Linked DNA regions of Homo sapiens: all the other regions are linked to region 1. The links are contacts of gene promoters, found by promoter capture Hi-C in blood cells and fetal thymus (Javierre and others, 2016). All regions are on one chromosome and are shown on one strand. Each heading gives the region's core, a stretch centred on a gene start or on the middle of the fragment in contact. The rest is flanking DNA. Distances are from core to core; before and after follow the strand shown.

The links. Contacts are between HindIII fragments. The CHiCAGO score rates a contact against its expected background, and 5 or more counts as called.
Region 2: the fragment with the promoter of PGLYRP1 here is called in contact with the fragment with the promoter of HIF3A in region 1 in 3 of 17 cell types (M2 macrophages, M1 macrophages and M0 macrophages); the score reaches 8.8 in M2 macrophages.
Region 3: a fragment that was not itself captured here is called in contact with the fragment with the promoter of HIF3A in region 1 in 2 of 17 cell types (M1 macrophages and M2 macrophages); the score reaches 8.7 in M1 macrophages.
Region 4: a contact is called between a fragment that was not itself captured here and the fragment with the promoter of HIF3A in region 1, in 1 of 17 cell types (M1 macrophages). The highest score is 5.4, in M1 macrophages.
Region 5: the fragment with the promoter of DACT3-AS1 here is called in contact with the fragment with the promoter of HIF3A in region 1 in 2 of 17 cell types (erythroblasts and M0 macrophages); the score reaches 6.5 in erythroblasts.

Annotation. Positions count from the first base shown.
Region 1 is chr19:46,295,609-46,298,308 of GRCh38, forward strand. HIF3A (hypoxia inducible factor 3 subunit alpha) reads left to right here and starts at 1,434. Exons shown (of 15, transcript NM_152795.4): 1 at 1,434-1,494. The coding sequence starts at 1,469. The HindIII fragment of the contact is 1,538 bases long and covers 720-2,257 here.
Region 2 is chr19:46,021,674-46,024,373 of GRCh38, forward strand. PGLYRP1 (peptidoglycan recognition protein 1) reads right to left here and starts at 1,380. Exons shown (of 3, transcript NM_005091.3): 1 at 1,062-1,380. The coding sequence starts at 1,348. RefSeq lists an enhancer at 1-873. The HindIII fragment of the contact is 5,413 bases long and covers 1-2,483 here.
Region 3 is chr19:45,943,731-45,946,430 of GRCh38, forward strand. All of the region lies in intron 3 of NOVA2 (NOVA alternative splicing regulator 2), which reads right to left. Among named protein-coding and RNA genes, the nearest start is that of NOVA2, 29 kb to the right of the region's middle. The HindIII fragment of the contact is 6,111 bases long and covers 1-2,700 here.
Region 4 is chr19:45,925,154-45,927,853 of GRCh38, forward strand. No RefSeq gene overlaps it. Among named protein-coding and RNA genes, the nearest start is that of NANOS2, 12 kb to the left of the region's middle. RefSeq lists enhancers at 1,813-2,313, 2,619-2,688. The HindIII fragment of the contact is 2,727 bases long and covers 32-2,700 here.
Region 5 is chr19:46,659,106-46,661,805 of GRCh38, forward strand. DACT3-AS1 (DACT3 antisense RNA 1) reads left to right here and starts at 1,259. Exons shown (of 3, transcript NR_040042.1): 1 at 1,259-1,303. It overlaps DACT3 (dishevelled binding antagonist of beta catenin 3), which reads right to left and starts at 2,077. Exons shown (of 4, transcript NM_145056.3): 1 at 1,711-2,077. The coding sequence starts at 1,959. RefSeq lists silencers at 1,875-2,124, 2,335-2,454. The HindIII fragment of the contact is 2,055 bases long and covers 115-2,169 here.

The sequences.
Region 1 (2,700 bases), core at 184-2,683:
AATCGTTCATTTCTGCACAATCTCTTTTGCACTGAACCTCATCTCATAAAGCCTCTCCTCTCTTTGTGGCAGTGTGAGCCCCATCTGCTCCATCTGCCCAGCAATTCCAGCAGACATAGAAAATCCTCTTTCCTAATGGTTTCAGCAAATGTCTCAGGGTTGATTCTCATTGGGCTAAATTAGGTAACATGCCTTCCCTGAACCAATCACTGTGGCCAGGGAAGCAGACTCAACTGATTAGCCAGGTTTGGATCCTATGTCCATCCCTGGAGCTGGTGAAGGCAGAGCAGTGGCCAAGCCCTATTCAAATTAAATAGATGAAGAGGACAGAGAAGTGGTTTCCCAAAAGAAAACAGAGTGGGGAACTGGCGTGAGCCGGGGAGCCGTGTGGATTCCTGGAGGAAGAGTGTGCTAAGCTGTGGGAACAGCAAGTGCAAAGGCCCTAAGGTGAGCAACTTGCCTGGCAAGTTCAAGGTTCAACAAGGCCACTTCTGCTGTAGTATCCTCTTCCCTGCCAACCAAATCCAGAATAGTGGTCCAACACACACACACACACACACACACACACACACTCTGTTCCTTATCCAACTGTAATGCTTTCACCCTTGCTTGGTACCTTTGTACTTCTCCCTTCATAGTCGACTAGTTAAAAAAAAATACATTTCTCGGCTCTTTTTTGAAGTAGGTGTGATTGAGTTAAAACATATTTACTTGACATAAGCTTAATTATTCATCAATGGGAACCTGAAAAGGGAGTCAGAGAGGCCAAGAGGTTAGGGTGGAGTAGAGGGGGTAGGGAAGGTAAGCTGGGGTGCAGAGGGTGCAGACTGGAGGAATGGGGGCGAAGTGGGGTATGGGACTGGGGTGGCAGGGAGGGGCTGGGGAGAGAGAGAGAAGGGTAGGTGCCAGAGGGCCAAGGATTGTGGAACTGGGGTGGGGTTGGGAGTTGGGGGGTGGGGAGGAGATGTGGGGTACTCTGTGAATACCTTAGAAGGGATAGAGAAGGCAGGGCTAGGGGTTTGGAAGGGGTGGGATTGGAGGTCAGAGGGGCTCAACTGGGGTTAGGAAATGGAAAGGTGAGAAGAGGTGGGGGTTAGAGGCTGGGGACTGGGGTCCAGAGAGCAGAGTGAACTGAGTGGGTTCAGAAGAGTACTGGCGTTGGCACTTCAGAGGCTGGACTAGAGAAGGCGCGTTCAGCCGACGGTGCGGGATACACTGCCGAGGAAGTCCGCGGCGAGGGGCGTGGTTGGGGGGTGTGTATTACACGGTATCCCCCCCTTGCCTTTCCAAGTCTTTCCCTCTGGTTCCGCCTCCTTTTCAGGAGTGACATACCGTTGCCCAATCAGAGCCTCAGGCCTGGCGTGGCACAGCCAACCGCGCGGCGTGGGGAGGAGCTGGGGAGGGGGCTCGCAAGGCCGGGGAGGGGGCTAGGGGCCTCCGAGGGCTCCGGAGCGGCGACTGGCGAGCCATGGCGCTGGGGCTGCAGCGCGCAAGGTACTGAAGTTCGGGGGCAGGAGTTCTGGGAATTGGGGGGCTCTCCTCCTGGAGACCCCTGAGCTGGATTGTTGGGGGGGGTGGGGTTCGCGGGTGCGAGCCAAGAACGCCCCGGGGCGCGCAGTTGGAGGCACATCCCCACCGCACTCTCCACCCTTAGGGACTGCAGGGGTGGGGGATTCCCTACGTCTCTGGCTGCCCCGCCCCTCTGGCCAAGAGCGGCTTCGGGGTTCCCGATTTCTCGCTACCCAAGGCTCATTTACCCTCCTGGTTGGGGGTGGAACTTGGGATTCCTGATAAATTAGGGGTGATTGCATTTGAGCAGTCCCCAGGCTTCTGCGGGAGATATTCGCCCTCCACATATTGATCCCTCTGGCCTCTGAACCCCCCAAAATTGAGGGTATTCTTTGCCACCAGGTGCCTGGGATCCTAGGTGATATGGGATACCCCTAAATGGAGCCTTCCCACATATAGGGAGTCCCTTGGAATGGCATTCAGCTCCTGAGTTCAAGAGAGGAGAGATCTCCTCTAATAGTATGCTTCCTGACACAGTCTCCTAAACATTGGGTTTCCCTAGAAATGGGCAGAGGGGAGCCCCTTTCAGAAGCCGTCTGGGACCCTTCCCAAGAGACTTTTTGTATCCTTTCAAAAGCCAGAGTCACCCCCTTAAATAACAGGGAAACAAGCTGGACCCACTTCCCAAAGTCCAGCCCCTCATCTCACCCCTGCACCCCCATCCTGAGAGACAGGGGAGCCTCATCCAAGCTTTATTTTGGGGAGACTCCATGGCAGGGTGCTGTGAGCCTGCAGGCTGTGATGGGAACGCCCCCTGCCGCAGTACTCAGATGGGGTCATCCCGGGCAGAGGGTGGGTTTCTGGGTTCACTTGCCCAGCAGGTGCAGCTCTGCTGGAACACAGGGGAACCTGTGCCCTGGGGCCGCTGCCGGGGGGTTTTATCTGGCCATGTTCCCATGGGACCCTGGAAAATGTTCTAGGTCCTCAGCTTTCCCTGTCCAATGTGAGGCACCCAGTAAGCCTCACCCCCTTCCCTCCTCCCTGGCTTCTCAGGCCTGATTGGATCCATGCACACCCCATGTTTCTAACCGCCCCCATCCTCTCCCCTGTCCCCTACTCTATTCCAGGCCCTGGCTCTGGGCCTAACAAGGAACTCTATCCCACCCCTTTTGGGCCAGCTGTCGTTCCGCC
Region 2 (2,700 bases), core at 130-2,629, 270 kb before region 1:
TCTTGTACCTACACTAGCCCTGGTCCCTGCTCTGCGGGGGGAAGCCTCCCATGGCTCCCATCTCGGAGTAAAAGCTACAGTCCTCACTGTGGTCCACAAAGCCCTGCCTGGTCCTGCCCTTTCCTCATTTCATTCCGCTCGCCCGGCTGTGTTCAGCCACCCTGTCCTTCCCACAGGACCCGCCCACTCAACCCCGTTGGCTTTGCCCCCAGCACCCCCTGCCACCTGCAGGCCTCTGTCTGCTCCCCCATCCCAGAGCCAAGGCAGCCACTCTCAGGGAGGCTTTCCCTTGCCCCACCCTTCCAAGGAGCCTGTGTGGGTCTGGTCCCAGCCTGAGGTCACCCTCCCTCACCTCTTTCCTTTTATCCATCGCCTCTATCACCGTCTGAATTCACCTGTGGCCTTGGCTTGTTTCTCCCTGCTGGTCTTTCAACCCCAGGAGGCTAGAGTGGCACCGTTCTCCATGCCACATCTGGCACACTGCCTGGCACATAGTAGGTGCCTAATGGTAATAGCCCGTGGCTTTGCGGGCCCCCGTGTGCCAGGCAGTTCCTAGGTGCTTTGCCTGTATTGGCTCATATAAGGAGCAGATGGGCCGCGATTCCATTGACTTTGCCGAGGAGGAAGCTGAAGCCGGGAGGACCCGCCCCAGGCCTCAGCCAGCAATAAGATGAGCTGACCCTGGAACCCAGCTCCGCACTGAGTCAGCCTGGTTTTCCGCCTCCTAACAAAGGCACCAGGCATCAGGAAGGGGCGCCTTCATAAGGCGTCGCGGACACCTTGGTGTGTGTTAGGCAAAGCCTGCCCCTTCTTCCCGGGAGCGGGAGCGGGGCTTGGATTTCAGCCCATCCCCCCTTCTCACGCATCTTTGTGCTGTGAGCACCTGCCCCGGCCCACGTGGTGACCCGAGGAAGAAATGACCTTGTGAGGTTCAGTAAGCTGCTCAGGGTGTCAGCCAGGTGGCCTCAGCACCAGGCCTAGAAATGGTCCCGCTGGCGGGCACTTGCACACCTTTGCCTCTGGGATCCCCAGTCCAGCCCGTGCCCCCCTGCCACACTCACTTGTAGCCCACGTCGCACCAGCCCAGTGTCTTCATGTGGTAGTGCTGCACATTCCGGGCCTGCTGCTGGCACGAGGCGGGGGTGTTGCAGCTGCTGCCCGCCGTGTGCGATACCACCACATAGCGTAAGGGCAGGCTCAGGTGCTGGGCGCACTCTGATGCCAGGGCCTTCCACTCGTTCCGGGGCACTATGGGGCTGCAGCAGGCCGGGTCTTCTGTCTCCTGAGCCGCTCCGAGTCGAAGGAGGCTGGGGAGAGCCCAGGCAAGCAGCATAGAGCGGCGGGACATAGTGGCAGGGCGGCAGGGTCCGGGAGACCGCTAGGAGCGCCCGGTGGAGGGGCCGCCTTTATCTGCTGGGGGATTCCAGGAGTGGCCCGGAAAGTCTTGCTTCACACCCTGCTGGGACTTCCTGCTGGCCCAGCAGACCCCAGACTCAGCTTCCTTCTCTGGCTGGGCCAGGGCGGGATGCACTGTGGTTGGGGTCTGGGTCACGCCCACGGCAATGACAGGCCCCCTCGCTCAGCAGGGAGGGACGCACAGGCCCCTGGGCGCTTCGCCCCGCCGTTTCTGGAAGACCCGGGGCCGGGATCCCGGTCCTGCTTGTCTCTCCTCTCAGTGGAACATTGAACAACTCAACAGGAACTTACATCGCAGAGGCCCGGGGCATTGGCACATCTTCTCCCCGCAAGGACTGAGGTAACAAAGCTACCCATTTTAAAAACACTTCCTTCCCCCAGGTCCAAGCCTGATGCCATTTACGCTTGCAGCAAACTCAAGAGGTGAGTATCTGGAAGTCCATTTCACAGTGGAGTAAACTGAGGTTGAGAGCAGGGAAGTCACGGGCTGAGACACCGGAGGCACTGGAGCCCCGCGTCTAGAGCCAGGCTGCCTGCATGTGAATCCTGGATATGCAGTGTGTGAGAGCCTGCAAGTGGTTTTTAAAAATGTGTATTTAAAATTTTTTTTTTAATTTTCTATTTTATAAATAATATTTTCCTTTTTTTTTTTTTTTTTTTTTGAGATGGAGTTTTGCTCTTGTCACCCAGGCTGGAGTGCAATGGTGCGATCTTGGGCCACTGCAACCTCCGCCTCCTGGCTTCAAGTGATTCTCCTGCCTCAGCCTCCTGAGTAGCTGGGATTACAAGTGCACACCACCACGCCCAGCTAATTTTTATATTTTTGGTAGAGACGGGGTTTTGCCATGTTGGCCTGGCTGGTGTCGAACTCCTGACCTCAGGTGAGCCACCTGCCAGTGTTCCAGAGTGCTGGGATTACTATAGGCATGAGCCACCGTGCCTGACCTGTGTGGTGTGTTTTCATCTTCTGTGTTCTGCCTTCTCATATACATTGTACTCATGCTGTTACTGAATTGTGCACCAGGCATCTGTAGCACTTTTCAGAAATTATCATATACTCAACGACAAGCTTGCCAGATCCATGTTATTATTAACCCCTCTTACAGTTGACGGAACTGAGGCCCGGGGGGATGATCACATACAGGAGGTGATGAAGCCAGGGTTTGGCTACAGGCTTTCTGCCTGCAGAGTTATAAACCGTATTCTCCTCCCTACAAACTTATATAAGGACATTAAAAAAAAAAATCAAAACCATGTGCATCAATTTACCTTTTGTCACCTAAT
Region 3 (2,700 bases), core at 1-2,500, 350 kb before region 1:
AGTCTCTGAGCCCAGAACCCAACTGACACAGTGAGACCCTATCCCCCCCAAAATAAATAAGTAAATAAAAATAACAAAATAAAAAAAATCTCTGAGCTCAGAGCCCAACCCCATGACACATGTAAGTACCAAGTATTGTTTGCATGGTTTTAAGAGCTACTGAAATTTCCAGGAACGCAACTACCAGTAAATCAAGAGCAGATTGTGCTTTGTTTTGCTCTGCACTTCACTAAAAGTTTTCATCATTTTAGAAAACCTGGCGTCAGTAGCAACAGCATTTGTATTATTTAAGTCTCCAGTATTATACTCTGGATCACTTTACATATGTAGTTGTCTCACTTAGCTATGCTTAGGTGTGAGCAGCTGCCTAATTCATTATTCCTTCTATTGTGGTCCTGACTATTTATTTACATATTAAAATTCACCTTGGCTGGGTGCAGTGACTCACACCTGTAATCCCGGCACTTTGGGAAGCTGAGGCAGGGTGAATCACTTGAGCCCAGGAGTTCAAGACCAGCCTGGGCATCATGATGAAAACCTGTCTCTAGTAAAAATACAAAAAATAGCCAGGTGTGGTGGCATCTGCCTGTGGTCCCAGCTACTTGGGAGGCTGAGGTGGGAGGATCACTTGAGCCCAGGAGGTTGAGGCTGCAGTGAGCTGTGATTGTGCCACTGTACTCCAGCCTGGGCAACAGAGCAGACCCTGTTTCAAAAACAAAACAAAACAAAAAACAAAAACAACAACAAAGAAGCAAAAAATAAAATTCATCTTGTTTTATAACAAATCACCTTCCTTTTATTTCTTCTTTATTTAAAAAAGTCTCGTGGGATAAATAAAACATGGTATATCCATACAATGGAATATTACTTGGCAATACGTTGAATGAACAAAGTACTGATACATGCTATAGCGTGGATGAATCTAGAAAAAATTATGCTAAGTGAAAGAAGCCAGTTACAAAAGACCACAGCTGAGTTCATTTACATAAATGTCCAGAATATGCAGATCCACAGAGCCAAAAAGGTAGATTAGTGGTTGCCAGGGAATGGGAGGAAGGGGATTGGGGGTAACTGCCTACAGGCATAGGATTTCTTTTGGGTAATAGATACTTTCTGGAATTAGAAAGTGTTGATGGTTGACCATATACTGTGTGATTCCTTTTACAGAAATGTCCAGAATAGGCAAATCTATAGACACAGAAAGTAGATTTGTGGTGGCTTGGGGTTAGGGAGAGGGTGAGCTGAGGTGGGAGATCGAGGGGTCATAGCTAAGATGATCAAGATTTCTTTTGGAGGCCAGGCTCGGTGGCTTATGCCTGTAATCCAGCACTTTGGGAGGCAGAGGCCAGAGACTGCTTGAGCCCAGGAATTAGAGATCAACCTGGGCAAGATGGTGAAACCTCATCTCTACAAAAAATAAAAATAAATTAGCTGGATGCAGTGGTGTGCACCTGTCGTCTCAGCTACTCAGGAGTCTAAGGGATCACTTGAGCCCAGGAGTTTGAGGCTGCAGTGAGCTATAACAGGTGCCACTACACTCCAGCCTGGGTGACAGTGCAAGACCCTGCCTCTAAAAAAAGAAAGAAAGAAAAAAAAAAGGATTTATTTTGAAGGCAGTGCAAATGTTTGAAAATGGATTGTGGCAATAGGTGTACAACTATGTGACTATAATAAAAGCCAATGAACTGTACACTTTATTTATCATGTATTTTATGTTTCTCTTTTTTTAAATAGGGTCTTGCTCTGATACCCAGGCTGGAGTGCAGTGGTGTGATCAGAGCTCACTGCAGCCTTGTACTTCTGGGCTCAAGTGATCCTCCGGCCTCGGCCTCCTAAAGTGCTGGGATTACAGGCATGAGCCCCCATACTGGGCCTAGAGCCGTGTACCTTAAAAGGGTGAGTTGTATGTGAATTATATCTCAATAAAGCTGTCAAAAAGTCTTACGGGTGTAGATATGTCTATATGTGTATATATGAATATGAATAGTATTTCAGAGAGTCAAGTGAACATGACAAAATATTTGTAGGAGAAAGGGGGTGTTGCTGTGACAGAGCTCCCCATGCTCTATTCCCTGTTGGTCTCCCTGACTTTATTATTATTATTATTATTTTTTTTTTTTTTGAGACACAGTCTTGCTCTGTCACCCAGGCTATGGTGCAGTGGCATCATCTCAGCTCAATGCAACCTCCACCTCCTGGGTTCAAGTGATTCTCAAGTGAGCCGAGATCATGCCACTGCCCTCCAGCCTGAATGACAGAGTGAGACTCCATCTAAAAAAAAAAAAAAAAAAAGGCCAGGCATGGTGGCTCATGCCTGTAATCCCAGCACTTTGGGACGCTGAGGTGGGCAGATCGCTTGAGCTCACAAGTTGTACAGCCTGGACAACATGGCAAAACCTCATTTCTACAAAAAGTACAAAAATTAACTGAGTGTGGTGGTGCATGCCTGTAGTCCCAGCTACTTGGGAGTCTGAGAAGGGAGGATGGCTTGAGCCCAAGAGGTGGAGGTTGAAGTGAGCCAAAATGGCATCACTACACTCCAGTCTGGGTGATCGAGCCAGACCTTGTGAACAAGAAAAAGGAATCTTCATTTATTCTAGAGTAAAAGAGACTAATGAGGTGTAACAATCAAATGCAAAGCACGAATGTTGACTGAATCTCAGATTGAAAAATCCTCTATAGCTATAAAAGATATTTTAG
Region 4 (2,700 bases), core at 145-2,644, 370 kb before region 1:
TGCCCAAGCTGGTCTCAAACTCCTAGACTCAAGCTTCTCAACGTGCTGTGATTACAGGTGTGAGCCACCATGACTCATGACTGTTTTAATACTGGTGTCTGATCTCCCAGCATCTAAAGTCTGAGCCACACCTTTTCTGTTCTTTTGATTCTTATTGGTGTCATATTTCCCTGTGACCTGATTATGTCGGCCTGATGATTATTGACCTTTGCATTTTTTTTTTTTTTTTTTTTTTTTTTAGTGGAGTCTCCCTCTTTTGCCCAGGCTGGAGTGCAGGGGCGTGATCTTGGCTCGCCACAACCTCCACCTCCTGGGTTCAAGCGATTCTCCTGCCTCAGTCTCCGGAGTAGCTGGGATTACAGGTGCGTGCTACTACGGCTGGCTAATTTTTGTATTTTTAGTAGAGACGGAGTTTCACCATGTTGGCCAGGCTGGTCTCGAACTCCCAACCTCAAGTCATCCGCCTGTCTCGGCCTCCCAGAGTGCTGGGATTACAGGTGTGAGCCACCGCGCCCGGCCGACCTTTGCATTTAACTGGGGAATTTCCCCTGGGCCTGAGTTGAATGCATGGATTCCAGGGTCTGTGTTTGCTTTGGTTAGGCACCCCTCAGACACTTCCAGTTACAGCCTCTCCAAACATGGTTCTGGTTTCTTGTTCCTTGACTCATCCAGTTATCTACACTGGGGGTGTCAACACTGTTCTTGGGCCATTCTGAAGCCACAACTTCTCAGGGACTTTTTTTTCTTCCTTATCCCATTCTGCTCAGTGTTGATGCTGCTACCTTTGGAGTTGGGACTTGGAGTTGGGACAGGGACAGGTTTAGGTCTGGCTCGAACTCACTCAGCAGAAAGCACTTTGGGGTCCCAGCTTAGTGAAAGGAGGGTCTTTCTTTGCACTTCCTATCTAAGCCAGGCCCTGGAGGCCACAGTACTGAAATCCAATCATATGCTCCCAGCAAACCCGTTGAAGAAACAACCACCTTTTTTGTGTTCTTCTAGCCACCCTGTTTACACTGCACATTTTACAGGTGTTATGTCCTGTCTTTGCATTTCATCAGTGCTTTCTTTTAACTTTTTATTTGGAGAGAATTGTAAAGTCACAAGTTGTCATAATAAATAATGGAGATCTTCGTGTCCTTTCCTCAGTTTTCCCTGATGGTAACATTTTCCACAACTGTAGTACAATACCACAACCAAGATATAGACATCGATACAATCCACTGATGTTGTTCAGATTTTACACTTATTTGTACTCATTTGTGTGTGTGTACTTGTTTTTTGTTTGTTTGTTTGTTTGTTTTTTGAGAGAGAGTCTCGCTCTGTCTCCAGGCTGGAGTGCAGTGGCACGATCTCGGCTCACTGCAACCTCCACCTCCTGGGTTCAAGCGATTCTCCTGCCTCAGCTTCCTGAGTAGCTGGGATTACAGGCGCCTGCCACCGCGCTCTGCTAATTTCTGTATTGTCAGTAGAGACAGGGTTTCACCATCTTGGCCAGGCTAGTCTTGAACTCCTGACCTCGTGATCCACCCGCCTTGGCCTCCCAAAGTGCTGGGATTACAGGCGTGAGCCACTGCGCCCGGCCAATAAATGTATTTTTTTAAATGACTAGGTACCTCCTGAGAAGGATGCAGCTCCATTTCCCTACAGTTGGAAGCTCATTGGTTAAGAGAAAGAACAGTGAAGAGAAAATGGGGTTGAGATGGCCGCAGCTTTCTGGAGAGTAAAGCTGAGTGGTCAATTACTTCTGGCCAACTGAGGGCCCTACTCTGCTCCAAACCGAAACCATAATCCCCCACTGTGGCCACTCCAACTCTAGCCAGTAACTCACCGGTCTCTTTCGGTTCACGTTGCCTACCTGGAGGTGCTTGATCTTTCCACCTGCAGGGAGAGCAGCTGAGAAATGCCAAAGCATGGGTCCTGTTCCTGGCTTGTCTGTGGAACTACGGGACACCCATGTCTTACCTCTCCCTCCTCTTCTTCCTTAGGGATCTGAGCTTCTGGTTCAGCTGAGAGTGGGGTGAAGGTCAAGAGGGAGATCCCCGATAGTAAGGTTGGAACTGAGGATGAGGATAATGGTGAGGCAGGGGGCTATGAGAATTGGCACTGGTCATACAGGTGGTGACCAAGAAAAAGGACAGAGAAGGCCATAGAGATGGAAGAATTGAAATAAAACGAGCGTGGGGGCCAGGCACGGTGGCTCGCCTGTAATGCCAGCACTTTGGGAGGCCGAGGCAGGTGGATCACCTGAGGTCGGGAGTTCGAGACCAGCCTGGCCAACGTGGCAAAACCCCATCTCTACTAAAAATACAAAAATTAGCCGGGCGTGGTGGTGGGTGCCTGTAGTCCCAGCTACTCGGGAGGCTGAGGCAGGAGAATCGCGGAGGTTGCACTGAGCCGAGATCGCGCCATTGCACCCCAGTCTGGGCGACAGAGCGAGACTCTGTCTCAAACTAAACAAAAACAAAAACAAATTCTGGAGAGTGAAAAAGATGGGGGGGAAAATCAAACCAAGGAGACAGAACACACACGAAGACAGCAAGTGAGATTATACATGCACGTAAAAACAGAGATGGACAGAGAGAGAGGGCGTGCAACCACGTGGAGGAGGTGTGGCGCCTCTCAACATCTATTCCACTCTCCTAGCGCACCTTCCTGCGACTGCAGCGGCTGGAGGGCTCAAAACTACGTTTCCCAGAATGC
Region 5 (2,700 bases), core at 9-2,508, 360 kb after region 1:
TCCACTCTTCAGAGGGACCCAGGAACCCCCAGCACTAGAGAAGTTTATATTTAGCGCTTCTCTGCTCCTCCTCCTCCCCCCGCCTGCCACCGCCTCCTCCCTGATGCTGGGACAAGCTTTGCCTAGAGACTGGGGGGTGGGGGGACAGGCCTCTCCACTATCAGCTCGTGCCGGGAGGACAGAGGGCTGAGGGGGAGGAGGGGACAGAGGGACCGAGGAGAGGGAGACTGAAGGGCAGAGATGGGGAAGGTGAAGGGTGAAAAGGGGAGAGACCGAGGGCAGAGGGGGAGAGGACACAGCTACCCACAGCTACCCCAACCTCATGCCTCGCATTCTCCTTGTCAGGATGGAAGGCGCCTTCCAAGCCGAGCCAGCTTGGGGTGGGGGGAGCTAGCGAAGGCCCCCACAATCCGTCTCTAACTTTGGGAGGGGGTGGGGCCTCCCACAGCTGTTTCTGTTTCCAGAAAAGAATGTGCAGGGGGGTCCCACTCCTGAGAGGGGGAGGGGCCGGGCGTGCAGCCCCGGGAGCCTGGCTTCAGTCTTCCTCCCCACTCCCCATCTGGGGAGGGGGCGGTCGAGGTCAGCGGCGGGGAGAGCCCCCTCCACTGCCACCTCGGCTCAGGTTTCCCGAAACGGGAAGCTCTGGCCACACACAGGCTTGGGGATGGGGATCTGCCGTGGAGCCAGGGTGTGCGGGCTGGGGGGAGGGGAAGACAGACTGAGCCTGGGACGTCGGGCAAGAAGAAGAGAGCGAGGTGCAGACAGGCAGGAAGGGAAGGCCAAGGAGACAGATGCAGAGGGACACAGAGATCACAGAGACAGAGAGACAGGATGAAGAAAGAGAAGCAGACACAGAAAGTCACAGGGATGTGGCAGGACGGAGAGAGTGACAGAACCCAGGACGAGATCGGGAGACTCAAGGAATGACATAGAAAGGGGAGAGGCATGGGGCGTCCTCAAGTCATTCCGGAGACCTCTGCCCATCTTCCACCATGAGAACACCCAGAGTCCAGAAGTCTCCCCCAGGCGCTGCCTCGACCTGCCTCCCCTTGGGTCAAGGAGAGCTGGGGCCAGGTAGGAAGCAGGGGAAGTGTCACCAAAGGGTCAAGATCCCAGTGGGGGGTCCTCAGGGACTGTGAGCTTCCTCTCAGCAGTGGTCCCTCCCTCTGGAGGCCCTGAGATTCCCCTCCTCCCACCCCGCCCCCTCCAGAGATCTCCAAGCACACCAGGACTTAGGGAAGATGGAGCCCTGGTGGCGGGGCCCAGAGAAGGGCATGTTTGGAGCCTGGCTGTGTCACCTTGGGTGAGTCGCTTGCTCTCTCTGAGCCTCAATTTGTTTCTCTGTTAAATGGGGACTATCACCCCGTTTCCCAAGCCGCAAGAAGACAACGCCTGCAAAGTACCCGGTCTCGGGTTTGACACATACTTGGCGCCCACAAGGATTTTCTTTGGGGAAGGGGTGTAAGAGACAGGGCCTGTGTTTCTCACGAGGCCCCAGTGGGGGCGATGCAGTTCCCCCTCCCCCGATTTGGGGGCGGGGAGGCCAGGTCCGGCCCGCCGCCGGAACTCCGGGGTCGCCAGCCCCACCCCCTGTCCTTTCTCACTCCCTGCCTACCCGGGTCCCCAACCCCCGCCCGGTGTCTGAGCATCCAACCGAGACAGACAGACACAGACGGGGGTGGAGGGACGGACGGACAGGCAGCCCCTTACCAGCTGCTCCTCCAGGGCCGCTGCGGCCCGGCGCGCCGCCGCCGCATCTTCATCCTCATCGGCGTCCTCCTCGTCCTCGGCCTCGGCGCCCCCCATTCCGGGCTGGGCCAGCCGCAGCGCCTGCTGCACGCGGTACTCCTGCCTCTCCCGGAGCCAATGTAACTCGCAGAGCCCGGCCAGGCTACCCTCCAGCCAGCCCCGCAGCCGGCCCCGCTCAGGGCTCACCGGGAACGAGAAGGCCCGGATCATGGCTGCGGCCCCCCGCCCCAGCCCGGCCGGGCCCCGCGGCCACCCCTCTCCCGGTCCCACCTCCCCGCCCCAGCAGCCTGCCCGCCCGCCCGCTGGCCGGGCTGTCACCGTCTCATCTGCATAGGCGCCCGCCCATTGGGCCGCCCACCCGCGCCTTATCTGCATGGCCACGCCCCCGGCGACCGAGCAACAGCCGCCTATTGGCGAATAAGCTTCCTGACGAAGACTCTCGGGCGTGCAACCGCACCGCCCAACACGACGCATGCTCGCAACTGCCTACTCACTCCGCTCGCCACGCCCCCTCCGTGCAACTGCCTCGGGGCCCTGGCCACGCCCCCCCACGCGTCACAATGAAACAAGCCCGCCCTTGCTTCAATGCCATTGGTCTGTGCCTGGCCGGTCCTGCAGCAGGTTCCACCCTCTTGCGGGCGAGCGCTGGCTACCATTGGACTGTCCGGCGCGAGGGGAAGGGTGATCTATAAATAGGGAATGGGTACACGTGACAGTTTGGCAGCTGCTCCTACCCCTCCACCCCGCCCAACCTTCAGCTTCTGAGGCTGCGCAGGGGGAGAAAAGGGTTAGGGGGTCGAGCCCTGACTTCGCCTCCTCTTCCAAGAAGCCTTCCCAGACACTCAGCTGTAAAACCAGACGGACGTCCTCCGATGAAATTGTTTCTACTTAGGGCCGGCTTCACCGGCTTGGAATCCACTTAGAAGGGTCTTCGCGCTTGGTTGAATGTTC